Regions from separate parts of the Homo sapiens genome. Here regions 1, 2, 4, 5, 6 and 7 are each linked to region 3. Evidence: promoter capture Hi-C in 16 types of primary human blood cells and fetal thymus (Javierre and others, 2016). All regions are on one chromosome and are shown on one strand. Each heading gives the region's core, a stretch centred on a gene start or on the middle of the fragment in contact. The rest is flanking DNA. Distances are from core to core; before and after follow the strand shown. Region 1 holds the start of THAP3 (THAP domain containing 3). Region 2 has its middle 2.2 kb from the start of DNAJC11. Region 3 holds the start of C1orf174 (chromosome 1 open reading frame 174). Region 4 overlaps RPL22 (ribosomal protein L22). Region 5 holds the start of CAMTA1-DT (CAMTA1 divergent transcript). Region 6 overlaps LOC107984913 (a long non-coding RNA gene). Region 7 holds the start of HES2 (hes family bHLH transcription factor 2).

Region 1 (2,700 bases), core at 149-2,648, 2.7 Mb after region 3:
TGAATAACCAGCGCTCCAAAGTGTTTTTCTGCTTTGAAAAAAAAAAATTCCACAAGCTTTTAAAGGTGCATTTAAGAATCCATGTGACTTTAGAATGGAACTGCCGGCCCTGGCAACTGTCACGTGTGCTAGAAGGTTCGATGCCTCTGGAATGCATGTGATACTCATCTCCATTTTGTTTCCTTGATTGCATTTTTGTTCTTTTAGCAGATCTGTCCCTGTGGGTGGTGTCTAAGAAGTCGGACACCTTGGTTTTTGTGTTAGATTGAGCTGGGCAGCTGCAATCAGCTTCTTTATATGCAAATTAGGCACGACCCATCTGTGGTTCCTGGTTGGTGGCTAATGAAGTGAGGGGAGGGAGGGATGTCACCCCAAAAGTAGGCCCTCCCATTGGCTTTGGCCAGGCCAGACACTTCACATCGTTTACATGGTTCTGTGTAATTTTAAAGTTTATGTGTATAAAGCGAAGCTGTTTCTGTGAAACTGTATATTTTGTAAATAAATATATTGCTACTTTGAGGTTCATGATTCAAGGTTCAGGCGATTGCGTTCTGTGCTGAAGGACAATTGTGTTTCTTTTCTCCTTGCTACCTCCCCAAAGCATGATTACATCAAGTCTCTGGGAAGGCAGCGTCTCAGTGTGCACTTAGCAGGATGGAAAATGCCCACGGTGTTAAGGTACCTTGCTGGTGAATTCCTTAGAAACAAACCACAGGACGAGTAGATGTGAATGGTTTTTGCAGTTTCTTCATCAGATTGAGGATTAGCTCAAGCCCCAGTGAGTGGTTAGCCTACTTTTGATTTTTTTTTTGTTTTTGAGACTTGAGTTTCGTTCTTGTCACCTAGGCTGTGAAGTGCTGTGATGAGATTTTGGCTCATTGTAACTTCCACCTCCCGGGTTCAAGAGATTCTCCTGCTTCAGCCTTCCGAGTAGCTGGAATTACAGGTGCCCGCCACCATGTGCGGCTAATTTTTGTATTTTTAGTAGAGATGGGGTTTCACCATGTCGGTCAGGCTGGCCTTGAACTCCTGATCTCAGGTGATCCGCCTGCCTCGGCCTCCCAAAGTGCTGGGATTACAGGCGTGAGCCACTGCGCCTGGCCGATTTTTTTTTTTTTCTTCTTACAAGATGACGCCTTCCCTATAGGCTGCTTTGAGAAAGCTGCAGCCTCGGAGTTTCTGCAAGGCCTGAACTGGAATCTCCCTCCCCTTCAGTTGCCCTTTTTGCCTCTTCACGTTTGGGGGTTCCCTGTGACCAAACTTAAGGGCAGTGAGCTGTCTGGCCTCTGAACTGACACCACCAGTGGCCAACTAGTACCACCTCCAGTGACGTCAGAGGAGTCCAGACCTATTCACAATTCAAAGCCCTAAAAACACTGAGGGGTTGGCCGTTGGTTTCCAGTTGTCCAAGCCTGTGAGTGGCTATGCGTCCTGGTTGGGTGCTCAAAGCAAGGAGGTGAAAGGCGACCAGCATTGGCGAATGGGGTAAGACTTGCACAGGCCCAAGGCTAGGAGTTGGGGTTTCGGGCCTGAATTGGGGCCCGGAGCACCCCTTTACGTGGCGCCCCGGGTCCCGTCCGACCCTGGGGAGACGCGGGTGGCTGGGATGGCAGGATGAGCGCGCCCTGGAGGCGAGCCAGGCCCGTCACCACCTCCCAGCGGCCCCGCCCCTCCCCGCAGGTCCCTCCCCTCTCCGCAGGCCCCGCCGCCGCCGCCATCTTTGTTGGGGGCAGCCAGGCCTGGCTCGAGATGCCGAAGTCGTGCGCGGCCCGGCAGTGCTGCAACCGCTACAGCAGCCGCAGGAAGCAGCTCACCTTCCACCGGTAAGAGGCGGGGACCCGGGGGCGCGGGAGGCCCAGACCCGGGGCCCGCGGACCGACTCCGAGGCCTTGGCGCGCCGGGCGGGAGGCCCAAAGGCGTGCGGCCGCTGGGCCCGGGGACAGGCCGAGGTCCTGGGCCCAGAGGGGCTGGCGCCGCCGCGCCCGCCGCGGGGATGCGGGGAGTGGCGGACGGAGGGGCAGCGGCGCACCTGGCGGGGCCAGGGCCGGGACGTGCAGGGAGCGGAGCAGGTGTTTGCTGAACAGACTAGCGGGCCGCGGCCGGGGTTTGCTGTGTCCCTGGTCGCTGCAGCCCCCGCCGCGCGCGGTCCTGAAGGGAGCCCGGCACCTGGGCAGTGCAGTGGAGGAGTGGAACCCCCAGGGGCGTCCTGGCAGTGGGAAGGGACTCTGCAGGGTCGCGGGAGGACGCTGGAGACTTTGGAGTCTGCTCCAGCACTCGCCCGGCCCGGCCCGGCCCGGCCCAGGAGCAATCGTCATTAGTCACAGTTGCGCTTTCTCCAAGGTCCAGTCACGGCACCATTTCTCTACCCACTTTTGGGCACATTCCGAAGGGGGGCTTGTGCTCATCGTTCCCATTCCCTCTGCTCCCATTGTTCTGTTTTGTGATAAATGCTTTGCTTGAAGTATACGTAATGTACATGCAGAAAAATGCACGAATCATAAGTATACAGCCCAGCGAGTTTTCCCCAAGTGAACGTCACTGAACTGAAACGTTACCAGCTGGGCGCGGTGGCTCAAGCCTGTCATCCCAGCACTTTGGGAGGCCGAGGCGGGAGGATCGCTTGAGCCTGGGAGTTCGAGACCTGCCTGGGCAACAGAAGGAGACCCTACCTCTACAAATAATTTAAAAAAATTAGCCAGG
Region 2 (2,700 bases), core at 88-2,587, 2.8 Mb after region 3:
TTCTGCTGCTTAAATGACAAAGCAATAACTATTTGGTTCCTGATATAATTGTCTCTGGCAGGCATGTGTACCTGCAGTCCCTACCCCAGAGCCATTCTCCTGTAAATTTCTCCCTTATAATTTATCGGTGGAGTCTAATTGATTTCAACCTGGTGCCTGCTGTTTGGTGCATTATTAAAGATGTCTTGGTTACAACAATCTAAATAATTTAAAGGTCTTCGAAATGACGCCATTGTCAAGGGAAGGTGGACAGCAGCCCACTCTTGCCACCTGTTTGGTTCCCGCTGACCTGCGCAAGTCTCAGAAACCTTTGTTGTTCCTTCACTAACCACCAGTCCATAGCCATCCCCGTTGCCCTTCATAAGCAGGTCTCCTGGGAAGCCCCGAACACCTGTCTGTGGATTTGAGAGGCTGATTTCTTTCTCTTTCTAATTTTTGGCCAGATGTGCACCATCTGGGCCTGTGTCTCATCCCTTCCAAGTTGCCCAGCCCTCTTAGGATCTTTTGGCATGAGACACTTCGGTGTGCTGAGACAGATTGTTCGGGTGGGTTGAGTCAGCCTGAAACAAACTGTCAGCCCAGGTTGTAAATTAAGGGCTATTTCTTTAGTTGTGTGAAGCTTCTCCACAACAGCTTCCATGGTCCATCAGCTCTTCCAGCAATGTTATGGGCTTTGCCTTTTTCTCCTTTGCAGAGAAAAGAGCTGTGGTTAGGGCCAAACTGCATGCTGACATTTGACAGTCTTTAAGAATTTCTTTCTTTTTTTTTTTTTTTGTTTGAGACAGAGTCTCACTCGGTCGCCCAGGCTGGAGTGCAGTGCCACGATCTTGGCTCACTGCAACCTCCGCCTCCCGGGTTCAAGCGATTCTCCTGCCTCAGCCTCCCAAGCAGCTGGGACTACAGGCGTGCGCCATCACGCCCAGCTAATTTTTGTATTTTTAGTAGAGACGGGGTTTCACCATATTGGCCAGGCTGGTCTCGAACTCCTGACCTCGTGATCCACCTGCCTCGGCCTCCCAAAGTGCTGGGATTACAGGCGTGAGCCACCGCACCCGGCCAAGAATTTCATACAGAGAGACTGGGGGTAAAAACAACAATGTGGAGACATTCCTTTTTCCCTTAGGTTTTTTTTTCTTTTTTCTTTTTTCTTTTTTTTTTGAGATGGAGTCTCGCTCTGTCGCCCAGGCTGGAGTGCAGTGGCACGATCTCGGCTCACTGCAAGCTCCACCTCCCGGGTTCATGCCATTCTCCTGCCTCAGCCTACTGAGTAGCTGGGACTACAGGCGCCTGCCACCACGCCTGGCTAATTTTTTTTTTTTGTATTTTTAATAGAGATGGGGTTTCACCATGTTAGCCAGGATGGTCTTGGTCTCCTGACCTAGTAATCCACCTGCCTCGGCCTCCCAAAGTGCTGGGATTACAGGCGTGAGCCACCGCGCCCGGCCTCCTTAGGTTTGTAGACATTAATTGGGCCATAATGCTTACTTGGGTAGAGAAGTTCTTTGCCATCCCTCCTCTGCTTTGGAAAACACAGCCTCTAGGAATTATATAAATGGAACATAACATATGTTTCACTACGCCCAGGTCTGTGTTTCTATGATTGAGAATGACCTGGTTTTTATCACCACTCAAACAAGATAAATAGTGACTCAGGAATGCTCTGTGGCTGTCCTCTCTTGGGCCCACGAGATTTTGTGTTATGGTTACTTGGAAAGTGGTGGTGATAAATAGAAAGCTAACTTAGATGCTCCACAGGCTTGAGGAATGTATCTGTTTCTGAGGCTGGCTCTCTCGTTTCTCTCCTCCAAAACCCTAATCTTCAACGGGCAAAATAATGGAAACCAAAGGCAGTACAAATTTATAAGTTAAAAACGCACATCCAACAAACTACTTACGCCGAGCAACTGACAAAACCCAGCTGCTTTAACTCATGCCTTGCACTTTGTTTTCTTTTTCTTTTCTCTTTCTTTTTTTTTTTTTTGAGACGGGGTCTCCCTCTGTCACCCAGGCTGCAGTACAGTGGTGCAATCATGGCTTGCTGCAGCCTCCACCTCTTCAAGCTTAGGTAATTCTCCCACCTCAGCCTCCATAGTAGCTAGGACTACAGGTGCCCGCCACCATACCTGGTTAAGCTTTGTATTTTTTGTAGAGACAGGGTCTTGCTACATTGCAGGGCTGGTCTGGAACTCCCGTCTCAAGTGATCTGCCCGCCTCAGCCTCTCAAAGTGCTGAGATGACAGGTGTGAGCCACCGTGCCTGGCCTTTTGGTTTCTTTTTGTTGGGTGAAACCACAAAACAGTCTGTAACATAGCTGTAAAGCAAAACTTAATAGGTGACATTTAAATATAAACTGATGTAATATATTTATGTAACTATACATACATGGGCATATGTATTTTATATTTACGCAAATATTATATGAGATATACGCATTTATGCAACTGCTAACAAATTCTCTCATCTTTATTTTATTTATTCTTTTGAGACAGAGTCTCACTCTGTTGCCCAGGCTGGAGTGCAGTGACATGATCTCTGCTCACCACAACCTCCACCTCCTGGGTTCAAGTGATTCTCATACCTCAGCCTCCCGAGTAGATGGGATTACAGGCATGTGCCACCACGCCCAGCTAATTTTTGTATTTTTAGTAAAGACAGGGTTTTGCCATGTTGGACAGGCTGGTCTTGAACTCCTGACCTCAA
Region 3 (2,700 bases), core at 4-2,503:
AAACATAAAGCACTGGAAAAAACCCAAAAAAGTTGTGGAAAAAAAATCATTAAATTAAAATGCTACATTAGGAAATATTCACTTTAATCCACTTAAAGAAGGAACAGGGGAAGAAAAAGACAGACTTGTATAAAGAAAAGAAAAAGTAAAATGGCAAATGTAAACCTAACTACAGTGTATCAATAATATTAAATGTGCATGGGCTAAACAATTCAATCAAAAGGCAGAAACTACCAGACTGCATTTTAAAAAAGATCCAAGTATATGTGCCTACAGGAGACAAGTTTTGGTTCAAAGATAAAAATAGTAAAAGGAGTTGGAATTCACAAGTGGCCACTCCATTTGAACAAACCAGGAGAGCCTCCATGCAGCTCAGAGCCTCCCAAGTGGACCGGGACCCGCGCCGGGTCCACTGTGAAAAGGGTCCTTCGCCTTAACTGTTACACCCACGCAATGAGCACTTGCCCCTTGCCAGACACTGGCACCCCCCTTCAATCCTCACCACCCTCTTGGTGGATCCCTCATCACCCCACTTTTAGCACATTCAGTAGATGGGGCCAAGCTGAGGTCACTTGCTGTGTGACGTCCATTGGAGTGGCAGCAGTTGAGGGGCACAAACTCAGCTCTGCAGCATCTAGCACTACCAGGAGTTGAAACCAGTTCTGGAGAGGGTGCCCCACCTTCCTAGGAAAGTGGCCCGAAACCTCCCTTCAAGGGGGCGTGACCTGGGAGCCCCCTGTTGCCCAGGACGTGAACTGTGAGCTCCACTTCTCCCGAGGGCGTGGACCGGAGCCCCCCTTCTCCCGCGGGCATGGCCTGGGAGCTCCCCTTCTCTCGGGGGTGTGGCCCAGAGGCCCCATTCTGCGGGGGTGGGTAACCTGGGAGCCCCCTTCTCCCGGGGACGTGACCTGTGAGCTCCACTTCTTCCGAGGGCGTGGCCCGGAGCCCCCTTTTCACAGGGGCGTGACCTGGCAGCCCTCCTTCTCCCGGGAGCGTGGCCTGGAGCCCCCCAACTACTGCCGGGGGCGAGGCCCAAGCGGAGGCCGCTCCTAGGCCACAGGCACCCCGTGACCCCGCCCCGGTTCTCCAGACAGCAGGTGACCCAGAGTCCCCGCCCTGCCCGGCGCAGCTGCTGCCGGGACCCAGCCCTCACCTTCCGGCTCCTCATGAGTGTGAGCACCGCAGCCAAGCACCGCGCGCCCCGGCCAACGCGTCCCGGCGGAGCGGCGACCCGGAGTCTGCAGAGCGCGCCGCGGCGGCGTCCGACGTCAGCACAGCCAATCACAGTGCAGCACCCTCGTCATGTGATTCCCCCCCCCCCCCCCCCCGTGTTGGCTCTTTCGTAAGCGGCGGGCGAAGGTCACAGGCCTTGGGCCAGTGGTGGGACACTGGAGCAGGAAGTCGGCCTGTGGCCGGCCATGTTCATGAGGGCGCGTCCCTTGGCACCCCTGTAGCCGCTATGTTTCCCACGCCCGTGGCAGGCCTGAGAGATTATGTTTGCGGGGGGTGCTTTTTTTGTAGCTTCTGTGTTCGCCATATTTGAAAGGGGCAGACGGCCATGTTCGTGAACGGCGCTTCCCTTGGTGCACCTGTGGCCGCCATGTTTGAGCGAGGTGGGCAACTATGTTCTTGAGGGGGGAGCAACCATGTTCTTGAGGGGCTCTTCCCTTGAAGCCTCTTTGGCCACCATGTTTGAGAGGGGCAGACGGCCATGTTTGTAAGGGGCGCTTCTCTTGGTGCGCCTGTGGCCGCTATGTTTGAGAGGGGCAGGCAACCATGTTCGTGAGGGGCGCTTCCCTTGAAGCCTCTTTGGCGCCATGTATGAGAGGGGCGGACGGCCATGTTTGTGAGGGGCTCTTCCTTTGGTGCGCCTGTGGCCGCCATGTTTGAGAGGGGCGGGCGGGACGTCCGTGAGGGGCCCCTCCCCTTGCATCCCCTGGCTAACAGCCTGCAGGAGGGCGGGAAGTGCTTTCTCCAGTGCCGCAGAGCGCTGGTTTCTGAGTGCCGGTTAGCGGCCTTGAGCAGCGCGAGGGACTCCCAGGCCTGCCCGTGCTGCGGTCCCGCTGGGGAGCTTTGCGCGCTTGTCGCAGGCTGTGCTGCCCCGCGACATGCCGCTTTGGGTTGGGGTGGCCCGCCCGGGAAGTGGCCTCAGCTGTCCCCCACGTTGCGGGCGGGAGGGGGCCTTAGTGGAGGCCGTCGGTGGGCCCAGGAGGCCAGGGTCCGGCGTCGGGCTGGGGGCCGGTTTTCGTCCCCCGTTACGTGCAAGGCGGGAAATGACCCCTCCGCCGTCCCGTTACTCTCCGGGGCCAACGTGGACTCGCAGGGGCCACGCCTTTTCCAATGGCCACGCCCCTAGCAGGCCTGGGTGGACCCGCAGCGGCCACGCCTCCTCCAATGGCCGCGCCCTATCAGGTCTGGATGGACACACGGCGGCCACGCCTCCTCCAGCAAACACGCCCCTAGCAGGCCTGGGCTGCTGTGATGCGTCCTCTTTGGCCGCCGCTGAGGGAGGTGTTTGTAAAGCTGAGGACCACTGTTCTGTTGTGGGTTTTTTTGTTTGTTTGTTTGTTTTTTGAGACGGAGTCTCGCTCTGTCACCCAGGCTGGAGTGCAGTGGCGCGATCTCAGCTCACTGCAACCTCCGCCTCATGGGCTCAAGCCATTCTCCTGCCTCAGCCTCCTGAGTAGCTGGGATTACAGG
Region 4 (2,700 bases), core at 116-2,615, 2.3 Mb after region 3:
AAATAAGCCTTCAACCTAGTAGAAAGAGCAAAGACATAGGGACTGAAACAATTCTAGACCTGGTCCAGGGCCATGTGTGGTACAGCAGAAGCAGCAGCCACTCAGGAGCCTGAGATATTCTCTGCAAACTACTGTGTGGGCCTCAGCAAGACATTCACCTCCTTGTGCTTCAGAAAGCTTTGCCCAAAAAGGACCTTTTTAGTTGTTTTCTTGCTATGGCAATGACATGAAGTCCCTTTCAGCTCAAAATTCCTATAATTTTCTGTTTAAAAACTCCAATACAAAATATGTTAACTGGCTGGGTGCAGTAGCTCACACCTGTAATCCCGGCACTTTGGGAAGCCAAGGCAGGAAGATTGCTCAAGCCCAGGAGTTCAAGACGAGCCTGGGCAACTTAGGAAGACCCTTCCTCTACAAAAAAATTTAAAAATTAGCTAGGTATGGTGGTGCATGCCTGTGGTGCCAGCTATTCCAGAGGCTGAGGTGGGAGGATCACTTGGGCCTATGAGGTTGAGGCTGCAGTGAGCCAGGATCATGCTACTGCCCTCCAGCCTGGACAACAGACCCTTTCTCAAAAAATAAAAATTTGGGAGACTGAGGTGGGCAGATCACGAGGTCAGGAGATCGAGACCATCCTGGCTAACATGGTGAAACCCTGTTTCTACTAAAAATACAGAAAATTAGCCAGGCGTGGTGGCGGGCGCCTGTTTCCCAGCTACTTGGGAGGCTGAGGCAGGAGAATGGCATGAACACGGTAGGCGGAGCTTACAGTGAGCCAAGATCGTGCCACTGCATTCCAGCCTGGGCAACAGAGCAAGACTCCGTCTCAAAATAAATAAATAAATAAAAATTTGGGGCCAGGCGCGGTGGCTCACGCCTGTAATCCCAACACTTTGGGAGCCCGAGGCAGGCGGATCACAAAGGCAGGAGATTGAGACCATCCTGGCTAACACGGTGAAACTCTGTCTCTACTAAAAATACAAAAAATTAGCCGGGCATAGTGACAGACACCTGTAGTCCCAGCTATTCGGGAGGCTGAGGCAGGAGAATGGCATGAACATGGGAGGCGGAGCTTGCAGTGAGCCGAGATCACACCACTGCACTCCAGCCTGGGTGACAAAGAGCAAGACTCCGTCTCAAAAAAAAAAAAAAAAAATTTGGCTGGGCACAGCGGTTCATGCTTGTAATCCCGATACTTTGGGAGGCCGAGGCTGGCAAATCACCTGAGGTCAGGAGTTCAAGACCAACCTGGCCAACATGGTGAAGCGCCGTCTCTACCACAAAAATACACAAATTAGGTGGGCATGGTGGCACACGCCTGTAATCTCAGCTACTCGGGAGGCTGAGAAAGAGAATCACTTAAACCTGGAAGGTGGAGGTTGCAGTGAGCCAAGATCACACCATTGCACTCCAGCCTGGGTGACAGAGTGAGATTCCACCTCAAAAATAAATAAATAAAAATAAAATAAAATGGCCAGGCGCAGTGGCTCATGCCTGTAATCCCAGCACTTTGGGAGGCCGAGGTGGGTGGATCACCTAAAGTCAGGGGTTCGAGACCAGCCTGACCAACATGGAGGAACCCCATCTCTACTAATAATACAAAAATTAGCCAGGCGTGGTGGCAGGCGCCTATAATCCCAGCTACTCGGGAGGCTGAGACACCAGAATGGCTTGAACCAGGGAAACGGAGATTGTGGTGAGCCGAGACTGCACCATTGCACTCCAGCCTGGGCAACAAGAGCAAAACTTGGTCTCAAAAAACAAAGTAAATAAAATAAAATAAACAAAAAGTATACATTAACCATAGATGGGGCACAGAGTGATTAGGTCAGAAATCTTGAATTCTGCATCTCAAGATTCATAAATGACTTAAGTTTTCTATCCTAAGGAGGCTTCCAGAAGGAAAGACAATCACACAAACAGATGAGTGGGCTGAGGGAATGGCTCAGAGGGAGGGAGGCAGGAATAATGCCAGAACAGGGCCACCATGTGAATACCAAACTGGAAGACACCAAAGTTGAAAAAGAGGAGGCCACAGAAAAGCCAGAAGTCACTGGATAGAGAAAGAACTAAGGAAATAGGGGATTTCTTGAAGGACACAGATGCAAACAGCATCTACATAAAGGCAATAAACTATAAGAGGTTACCTAAATTCCATTCTGGATAATTCGTGACCATAATTATTTTGTGTTTAAAAATTATTTTTGTTGTAATGATACTGATCCTGGCAATAGTTCAACCTTCTGGAGAATTTAGAGCAAATGCAAATTTAGGAGACTTCTACACACAAATACGAAGTCTGAATCCCCCAAACATGGCTATTAGAGGAAAAAGAATAAAATGTCAAAACCAAACTGCTGAGTCAAAATGTGGCGGAAGGATTATTTAATATTTCTAGATTGCAATAGGATAGAGGAATATTGGGGAATGGGCCAAATACAGGGGCAAAAAATCAGCACAGAGCAAGATCTGAAGAAAAAAAAAAAAGCTCCAATTACAATTCAGCAAGCAGGGTACTTTAAACACTGAAGCTCAGATGCTTCATAATATAGAAAAGCTTCGGGAACTGCTGCCACCTGTCCAAAGCTCCACATCAAAGCAGTGAGACCCAGGACAGAGGCAGCCCATAGTCAGGATCAGGGTCCCTCACTTATGCTTAAACACACCAAACAGCAAGGGGGATGCCATGGACCCAGTGAA
Region 5 (2,700 bases), core at 24-2,523, 2.9 Mb after region 3:
AATATACTAATTTACAATGCCACCAGCACTTCTTTTAAGAATCCGTTTCTCCACACAAATCGTCAACATAGGTGCTATTAAGAATGCTAATCGATAAAATATTGTCCCGCCGTTGTTAAAATTTTGCAATTTTTGAGGCTCATAAAATTAAAGTTTCTTGAAGAATGAGTGTGTAACACAAAACATTCTTTTGGGACATCTTTATTTCTGGAAAACCTAAGACATTCTTACTTGTGAAGACCAGAAAAAGAACACATGTTGTTAGGATTGGCACAGAATTCAGTGTGACAGTCAATCTTAATGCCAGAACACTTGAACGAGGATTTTTCACTTATTTTGCTAGTTGTCACCAACAGTAGCAAAAGGAAAAATAAAATGCGGAAGAATGAAATGTTCTTACTGCAAACCGTACAAGATCACATTGAGGGGCTGGAGCTCTTACATTCAACTTTTCTTTCCTTTTTCTTCTTTTTAAACAATTTGCGATTGCAGCCTCTCCTTTTGTTTCCGGTATTACCTGCCCAGGAGCAGAATTCCTTACTTTCTCCGGAGAGAGGCCGGTCCCTGGGAGCGCTGCCCAGCCACCCGCACGCCTAGCCGCCCCGAGAGCCGCACTCGGCGGACCCGGTTCCTAGGCTCGTTCCCGGGGCACCTGGCGGGCGCCCACCTCCCGGGGGGCACGTGCTCCCGTACGCAGCGCGAGGGCAGCGGGTGCCTGGCTATTTATTAGGAAAAGCCCCGCGCGGACTCTCCGGATTGAGGAGGGTGGGAAACTCGGCTGCCCAGCGCTCCACCCGGGCGGCCGGGGCTGGCGCTTCTCTGCTTTCGGCCGGCGGCCTCATCCTGGGACAGGCAACCATGAGTCATCCGCTCCGCGGGTCACATGGGCAACGTGACCAAAATAAAGTTTCGGTATTTTAAGCCGCCAGAAAAGGGGACAACGGAGCTCACCGGGGGCGGGCACAGGAGGCGGGCGCAGGCGGGCGGCGCCGGGGCCGTGGGGACGCGGCGCCGAGGGGGCGGGGCCTGGCGGGAGGCTCGCCCCTCCCCCACGGCCGGCAGCGACGCCCGGACTCCTAGGCAGTCGGACTCCAGGGCGCGGCACCCCTGCGGACCTCAGCCCCGAGGCCCCCCGCGTCCGGCTCCCCACCGGCAGCGGCGGCGGGCTGCGGGATCCCGGAGATCCCGGCGCGTCCCCCACAGCCACCGGGACCCCACGCGCCAGCAGCGGCTTCCCCGGGAACGTCCTTCAGCCCCGGGAGCACGCGGGAAAAGCCCCAGCGTGCCAATGAGGGAGCGCCTTCCTCATGACGGTCACGCTCGGGGGCGGGGCTTCCCTTCGCCGCTCCCGAGTTCCGGGAACCCCCTTTGATTGGTCTGGACGGCCTGGGAAACACTGTAGTGACGCCCAATCAAAACGCCACGTCTCGGCCTCGAGGAAATATTCCGTGTCGGGCCCGTCCTGATTGGACAGTTCTTTCGGGTTCTGGCCACTAGGAAGCTTTGTTTAGGTCCGGAAGGCGGGCTTTCCTGGGAGTGGGTGGGGAGGGGGCGTTGATTCTTGACCAATCCTTTCAGTCCGTTGGGTGGTGACCAGCCAATGGGCCGGATGGATAGGACGCTCCTCCCGGAGAGTAGTGAGACCCCTGGTGCGGGGCGATTGGCGGCGGGAGCGATGAGTGGCAGCCGCACGGCCCAACGGGAGCTGTGCGTGGGCCGCGGGGCGGGGCCAGGGCGGGTGCGCGGCGGCGGCGGGGTGGCTGGGCCGGCGGCGGCGGCGGTACGAGGCGCGCGCTCGGGGTCCCGGTCGCGAGGAGGAGGAGGATGTGGCGCGCGGAGGGGAAATGGCTGCCGAAAACAAGCCGGAAGGTAAGAGCCGGAGCGCGAGGGGCTGGGGGGCGGCGCGGCGGGCGGCGGGACCCGGCCCCGCCGGACATCCCGGGCATCGGCGGCGCCGGGCGGGAGCGCGGGGGCGCGGCGGGCGGGCGGGCGGGCGACCCGGCCGGGGAGGGGGCCGGCGGGGTGGGGGGGCGGAGCGCGGCCGAGTCCTGAGGTGACTCGCGGGGCCGGCGGAGCGCGGCGCCCCACACCCCACCCCCGGGGGCGGGCTGGGGCCGGAGGGGGCGGGGGGCTCGCGGGGCGGGGACCGGGCCCAGCGAGGAGGAGGAGCCGGCGGAGGGCCGGCGCCTCCCCCACCCGGACCGGGCATCCCCGCCGCTCCCGAGCCCGCTGCGCGGCCCCCGCACCCCCGGCGCTGGGTCCACGGTGGGGGCCGCGGGGCGGAAAGTTTATCCGCCTCGGGTCCTCCTGGCCCCGCGCCCCACTGCTCCGGGCCGGTCCCCGTCGGGCGGCAGCGGCCGGCGCTCAGCCCTCGCCGGCCCCCTGCTCTCCGGCGGGCAGGGCCAGATGTACTCTCTCCGGCACCCTCTTCAGCCCCGTGGACACCTCCCTGAGCGGGCGGGGGGTCCCCGAGCTTCTCCCCGCCAGGGGGACCCCGTCCTGCCGAGCGTCCCTCGGCCGAAGGGCCTCGTGTGACCCCTCCCCCTTCGCTTCCCGGGAAGGGAAGGGGGCCTGCGCAGCATCCCCGCCCCTCGCAGTCGTTCACATCCTACTCTTGCCCTTGCACCCTCACAGCCAGGAGGGTGGGGTCTCCGTTTCTATGGCAAGTGAGGATCTCCACACTCCCTTGCCCTTTACCTT
Region 6 (2,706 bases), core at 187-2,686, 2.7 Mb after region 3:
AACTCCTGACCTCAGATGATCCACCCGCCTCGGCCTCCCAAAGTGCTGGGATTACAGGCATGAGCCACCTGGTCTGGCCATGTTACCTTTTTTATTGAGACAGGATCTCCCTCTGTTGCCCAGGCTGGAGTGCAGTGGCACAATCTCAGCTAACTGCAACCTCTGCCTCCCAGGCTCAGGTGATCCTCCTACCTCAGCCTCCCCAGGAGCTGGGACTACAGGCGTGAGCCAACACGCTTGGTTAATTTTTTAAATTTTTTGTAGAGACGGGGTTTCGCTGTGTTACCCAGGTTGGTCTTAAACTCCTGGACTCAAGCAATCCTCCAGTCTTGGTGCTGAGCCAAAGTGCTGAGATTACAGGCATCAGCCACCATGCCAGACCCTAAGGTCATTTTAAAAGTGGCTGTTTACAGCCTGGCCAACGTGGTGAAACTCCATCTCTACTAAAAATACAAAAATTAGCCAAGCGCGGTGGTGCACATCTATAATCCCAGCTACTCCAGAGGCTGAGGCAGGAGAATCGCTTTAACCCAGGAGGCGGAGGTCACAATGAGCTGAGATCATGGGACTCAAGCATGGAGGACAGAGCAAGACTCCGTCTCAAAAAAAAAAAAAAAAGAGCAGCTGTTATTCTTTTTTTTTCTTTAAGAATATTTAGGAACACACTCCTTAGCCTTGATTACGTCCACAGCTATTGTGCCTTTTCTTGTATCATATCATACACTCTGATTTTTTCAGATTCCAGGTTTTCTAAGGTATAATGCACTTACCATATATAACTCCTTTTTTTTTTTCTTTTGAGACGAAGTCTCCCTGTGTCGCCTAGGTTGGAGTACAGTGGCGCAACCTCAGCTCACTGCAACCTCCGCCTCCTGAGTTCCAGTGATTCTCCTGCCTCAGCCTCTCGAGTAGCTAGGATCACAGGCACGCACCACAACACCTGGCTAATTTTTCTATTTTTTGTAGAGATGGCATTTCACCATGTTGGCCAGGCTGGTCTTGAACTCCTGACCTCAGGTGATCTGCCTACCTCAGCTTCCGCTGGGATTACAGGCATGAGCCATTGTGCCCAATCTAAACATTTTTTCTTTAAGGAATGTTGCGCTATTCTCTATTTATTAAATGCATTTACATATGTAAATGAGATAGGGTAAGTAAAAACATTTAAACAGTGTTTGACATATAGTATTAGTTATTATCTTTTTTTTTTGAAACAGAGTCTTGCTCTATTCCCCAGACTGGAGTGCAGTAGCATGATCTCGGCTCACTGCAACCTCCACCTCCCGTGTTCAAGCCATTCTCCTGCCTCAGGAGAGTAGGTGGGATTACAGGCACCTGTCACCATGCCTGGCTAATTTTTGTATTTTTTTGGTAGAGATGTGGTTTTGCCATGTTGGCCACGCTAGTCTCCAACTCCTGACCTCAAATGATCCATCTCCCTTGGCCTCCCAGTGTTCTGTGATTACAGGCGTGAGCCACAGCACCCCAGCCTTTAGCTATTAACTTTCTTTTTTCTTTTTTGGAGACAGAGTCTTGCTCTGTTGCCCAGGCTGGAGTGCAGTGGCGCAATTTCGGCTCACCACAACCTCTGCCTCCCAGGTTCAAGCGATTCTTCTACCTCAGCCTCCCAAGTAGCTGGGACTACAGGTGTGCGCCACCATGCCCAGCTAATTTTTATATTTAGTAGAGACGATGTGTCACTGTGTTGGCAAGGCTGGTCTCTAACTCCTGACCTCGTGATCCACCTGCCTCGACCTCCCAAAGTGCTGGGGTTACAGGTGTAAGCCACCATGTCCAGCTTAGCTATTACCTTTGTATTCTACCAGTATGAACTCAAGAAACTCATTTGATTCTTCTATCTGTAGGTCAGATTCACTGTGTGAAACACTGACAATATATGGTCTATAAATTATTAATGATTTCAAATGATTCACACACATATTCATACAGTTTTCAAGTTACTAAAAGCTGAAAAGAAGATTTTGTGGAATTTTCACTTTTTTCCCATCTCCTGGAAACGGAAGTGAGCAAGGCAGAAAACAGAGGGTAAAAAGAATTCCTAAGAATATACTGGGCTGGGCGTGGTGGCTCATGCCCATAATCCCAGCACTCTGGGAGGCCGAGGTGGGGAGATCGTTTGAGACCAGGAGTTCAAGATCAGCCTGGGCCATGTGGTGAAATCCCTTCTCTACAAAAAATACAAAAACAACCAGCACTTTGGGAGGCCGAGGAGGGCAGATCACGAGGTCAGGAGATCAAGACCATCCTGGCTAACGCAGTGAAACCCCATCTTTCTAAAAAAATAAAAAATTAGCCGGGCGTGGTGGCGGGCGCCTGTGGTCCCAGCTAGTCGGGAGGCTGAGGCAGGACAATGGCATGAACCCAGAAGGCGGAGCTTGCAGTGAGCCGAGATCGTGCCACTGCACTCCAGCCTGGGCGACACAGCAAGACTCCGCCTCAAAAAAACAAAAAACAAAAACAAAAAACAAAATAAGCTGGATATGCTGGTGCATGCCTGTAGTCCCAGCTACTAGGAAGGCTGAGGCAGGGGGATCACCTGAGCCCAGGAGGCCTAGGGTGCAGTGACTATAGTGAGCCGTGTTCGAACCACTGCACTCCGGGCTAAAAAAAAAAAAAAAAAAAAAGGCTGGGCGCAGTGGCTCAGGCCTGTAATCCCAGCACTTTGGGAGGCCGAGGCAGTCAGAT
Region 7 (2,700 bases), core at 198-2,697, 2.5 Mb after region 3:
CTCTTGTCCTTTCTTCTCCAGCCAAGTTGGGGGTGAAGCAGGGACGCTCCTTTTATTCCCTGAGCCGAGCCCCAGCCCCAGGGCTTTCAGTCTGCCACGCCAGTCACAAACAGCCGGCTTCCGGCCTGGGTGTGGGTACTGGGCTGGCCCCTAATGATGGGAACAGCAGCCGCCACCAAGAGCTTCAACCTGTCCAGTGCCCCAAGGTCCCAAGCAGTCGGCAGGGTCTGTGGATCGGCCGAGGGGCTACCACGGCCGCCAGAGGCCAGGGCCGCAGGGAGGCGAGGGCGGCGAGGGCACCGGAGCGGATGCGGGCTCTGGGGCAGACGCGGGCGCTGGGGCGGGGGCAGACGGGCCACTGGAATCCCCAGCGCGCCCGCCGTCCAGGGTGGCGCTGGCCGCTCTCCGCCACAGGTGCTCCAGCAGGCGCGCGCTCACGGCGGGCTCCAGGACACGGCAGGCGGGCAGCACGCGGGCCAGGCGCGCCACACAGGCGCTGTAGCCCTCGCGGTAGCTGTCGCAAGGCACTGCGGGCGGAGAGCCGCGTGAGGCGCGGGGTAGGGTGCCGGGTGCGGGGTGCAGAGCGCGCGGCAGGGCAGGGAGGGCTCACTCACGGGGCGCTGCCGTGGGCCATGAGGACGCAGGCAGCTCCTGCAGGAAGCGCACGGTCATTTCCAGGACGTCTGCCTTCTCTAGCTTCGAGCAGTTGGAGTTCTGCGCCCGGCCACGAGGAAGAGCGACAGAGAACCACCAAGACAGAACTTTGGCCGGCTACCGTGCGCACCCTCGCTCTAGTCGGGAGCTGGGTGTGGGGCGCGCCGTGGCCTGCTGGGGGTCCGCTCCGACGCGCCCACCCCACCCAGGCTCCGCCTCGGGCGCCGCGCGGAACCCCCTGGTGGGTTCCTCCCGCAGGAGCACCCCGTCCCCCTGCCCCCGCTCCGCGCCCCAGGACCCTCTGCCCTCCGCCCGGGCGCGCTCACCTCCCGGCCCAGCAGCGGCAGGATGAGCCCCTTAAGCTGGCTCAGGCTCTGGTTGATGCGCGCGCGCCGGCGCTTCTCCAGCAGCGGCTTCAGGCTCTGCGGACGGGCGGCGCGGTGGTTAGACGGGTCCCCGGAGTCCCCAGCCCCGCCCCCAGTCCCCGGTACCCACCTTGCGCAGCTCCGCCGCGTCCCCTGCCCGGCGAGGCAGCCCCATGCTCCGCGGGGAAGCGGTGGCAGCTGCGAGCCCCACGCAAAGGGAAACCGAGGTCCGAAATGAGGTCCCGGGCGCGGCCCGGGCTGGTGCCAGACGAGTGCGCGCCCCGCCCGCGGCCGAGCTTTAAGGGAGCGGCTCGCCCGCCCCGCCCCGCCCCGCGGAGTCCGGCCGCCCGCTGGTCCCACCTCCTGCCTTTGTTCCTGCGCAGGGTGGAGCCGGGAGGGGAGACCGCGACGCCCCCGGGGATCCCGCTCCCCGCCTTTGCGTCCTGTCTACCGCGGGGTGGCGGCCCCCAGTTTTCCCCGAGCACCTGCGGGAGAGTGGTAAAGGCGCCATCGGGGGCCTTCGCTGCGTGACCCCGAGGGCAGGAGGGCCAGGTGGGGCCAGGCCTTGCCTGACTGGAGCTACGGTCCCTCCTCTCCAATGCTGCCCTTCATTCATTCCCCAGGCTCGGGTTCAGCGTCTTCTCTGAGCCCCGCCCTGGGCCGCAGCAGGGGACCCAGCGGTTACGGGAGCTCCCATGAGGGACAGCAGCGGGAGGGACTTGCACCCCCAGCTGCTTTATCGGGTGAAGGGCTGAGCTGGACGGGAAATCCGAGTTCCGGAGAAAGGTCGTGACTTGCTCCAGTCCTCGACGCTGGGAACAGGCCGAGCCTGGACAAGGGCCCCAGTCGCTGGACGCCCGGCTCTAAGGAGCCCGTAGAACCCTTCGGCGGCTTGCCTAGTTAAGAGTCTTTTGGTTACCCCACTCCAGGCTTTGGGTGGGGAAACGGAATCCTAGAGAAGCAGAGGCAGCCCTGGAGCCCTCGGAGCTCGTTTTCATTCCCACCGGCTAGGGGTCCGGGTTCTCGCCCGCAAGACAGTCAGGGCTCATGTGACGCGCGGGCAGGACAGTTTTGGGTGCGGGCCCCAGTGGCCCGCCCAGGACCGCCTTCGCGCCGCGTGGCCGTTGCTGCGGCAAACTGGCTGGCGTCCCCCGCCCATCTGCTCCGGGCTCCCCTCCCCCGACCGGCTGGCGGGGCAACGGCCACGCCCGCGAACCACACTGCGAACTGCCGGGCAGAGAGATGACTGGAGGGATCCACAGAGCCAGCCAGGAGGAGTTCCCCTATGGGGCGGGGCCAAGGAGGGCTCTGTCCAGGGTGTTGGATGAACCCCCTGTCCCCCGAACCCCACTTCCGAGCTCCACCCCTGCCGCTAGCCCCACGTCTCCCTCCTTCAGGGTTCTCGCCGCAGGGTGGAAGAAGGCCAGCGAACACACTGAGGGGCCCGGAGAAGCCTGGGCCAGGGGAGCCCAGGCCACCCATACCTATCTGTGGCATGGGAAGGAATGTAGGCCACCTTTCATGGACACTTACTGTGTGCCAAGCTCAGGGCTTAACGCTTTAAGGCTCGCTAACCTGCATTAACCCTCATAAAAGACCTAACAAGTAAGAATAAATCCTTCAACAGATTTGGCCCAGCAGGGCTTGGAGGAACCTGAGACCTTGTTCTCCGTGGTTGAGG

Evidence for each region. The method cuts DNA at HindIII sites, captures the fragments that hold promoters and counts their contacts. A CHiCAGO score of 5 or more calls a contact.
Region 1: a contact is called between the fragment with the promoter of THAP3 here and the fragment with the promoter of C1orf174 in region 3, in 3 of 17 cell types (neutrophils, total CD4 T cells and naive CD4 T cells). The highest score is 14.0, in neutrophils.
Region 2: a contact is called between a fragment that was not itself captured here and the fragment with the promoter of C1orf174 in region 3, in 1 of 17 cell types (naive CD4 T cells). The highest score is 8.0, in naive CD4 T cells.
Region 4: a contact is called between a fragment that was not itself captured here and the fragment with the promoter of C1orf174 in region 3, in 3 of 17 cell types (activated CD4 T cells, total CD8 T cells and naive CD4 T cells). The highest score is 8.7, in activated CD4 T cells.
Region 5: a contact is called between the fragment with the promoter of CAMTA1-DT here and the fragment with the promoter of C1orf174 in region 3, in 11 of 17 cell types (naive CD4 T cells, naive CD8 T cells, non-activated CD4 T cells and 8 more). The highest score is 23.1, in naive CD4 T cells.
Region 6: a contact is called between a fragment that was not itself captured here and the fragment with the promoter of C1orf174 in region 3, in 1 of 17 cell types (neutrophils). The highest score is 7.5, in neutrophils.
Region 7: a fragment that was not itself captured here is called in contact with the fragment with the promoter of C1orf174 in region 3 in 1 of 17 cell types (non-activated CD4 T cells); the score reaches 5.3 in non-activated CD4 T cells.

Annotation. Positions count from the first base shown.
Region 1 is chr1:6,623,470-6,626,169 of GRCh38, forward strand. THAP3 (THAP domain containing 3) reads left to right here and starts at 1,399. Exons shown (of 6, transcript NM_001195753.2): 1 at 1,399-1,485; 2 at 1,681-1,823. The coding sequence starts at 1,750. PHF13 (PHD finger protein 13) reads left to right here. Exons shown (of 4, transcript NM_153812.3): 4 at 1-561. RefSeq lists a silencer at 1,790-2,199. The HindIII fragment of the contact is 4,820 bases long and covers 55-2,700 here.
Region 2 is chr1:6,702,711-6,705,410 of GRCh38, forward strand. No RefSeq gene overlaps it. Among named protein-coding and RNA genes, the nearest start is that of DNAJC11, 2.2 kb to the left of the region's middle. The HindIII fragment of the contact is 1,441 bases long and covers 618-2,058 here.
Region 3 is chr1:3,899,019-3,901,718 of GRCh38, forward strand. It overlaps C1orf174 (chromosome 1 open reading frame 174), which reads right to left and starts at 1,254. Exons shown (of 4, transcript NM_207356.3): 1 at 1,154-1,254. The coding sequence starts at 1,168. LINC01134 (long intergenic non-protein coding RNA 1134) reads left to right here and starts at 1,386. Exons shown (of 4, transcript NR_024455.1): 1 at 1,386-1,613. RefSeq lists enhancers at 346-916, 917-1,485, 1,486-2,055, 1,695-1,954 and silencers at 1,005-1,074, 2,155-2,334. The HindIII fragment of the contact is 4,148 bases long and covers 1-2,700 here.
Region 4 is chr1:6,194,309-6,197,008 of GRCh38, forward strand. The region is part of intron 2 of RPL22 (ribosomal protein L22); the gene reads right to left. Among named protein-coding and RNA genes, the nearest start is that of RPL22, 3.9 kb to the right of the region's middle. The HindIII fragment of the contact is 2,380 bases long and covers 176-2,555 here.
Region 5 is chr1:6,783,707-6,786,406 of GRCh38, forward strand. It overlaps CAMTA1-DT (CAMTA1 divergent transcript), which reads right to left and starts at 1,274. Exons shown (of 3, transcript NR_149049.1): 1 at 952-1,274; 2 at 443-517; 3 at 186-339. It overlaps CAMTA1 (calmodulin binding transcription activator 1), which reads left to right and starts at 1,748. Exons shown (of 23, transcript NM_015215.4): 1 at 1,748-1,869. The coding sequence starts at 1,825. RefSeq lists enhancers at 114-790, 791-1,465 and silencers at 591-650, 731-790, 921-1,330, 1,671-1,830, 2,041-2,310 and 1 more. The HindIII fragment of the contact is 4,377 bases long and covers 1-1,499 here.
Region 6 is chr1:6,606,064-6,608,769 of GRCh38, forward strand. All of the region lies in intron 1 of LOC107984913 (a long non-coding RNA gene), which reads right to left. Among named protein-coding and RNA genes, the nearest start is that of KLHL21, 4.5 kb to the left of the region's middle. The HindIII fragment of the contact is 3,900 bases long and covers 1-2,706 here.
Region 7 is chr1:6,418,627-6,421,326 of GRCh38, forward strand. HES2 (hes family bHLH transcription factor 2) reads right to left here and starts at 1,293. Exons shown (of 4, transcript NM_019089.5): 1 at 1,150-1,293; 2 at 981-1,076; 3 at 615-714; 4 at 1-527. The coding sequence starts at 1,194. The coding sequence ends at 247. The HindIII fragment of the contact is 3,974 bases long and covers 1-2,700 here.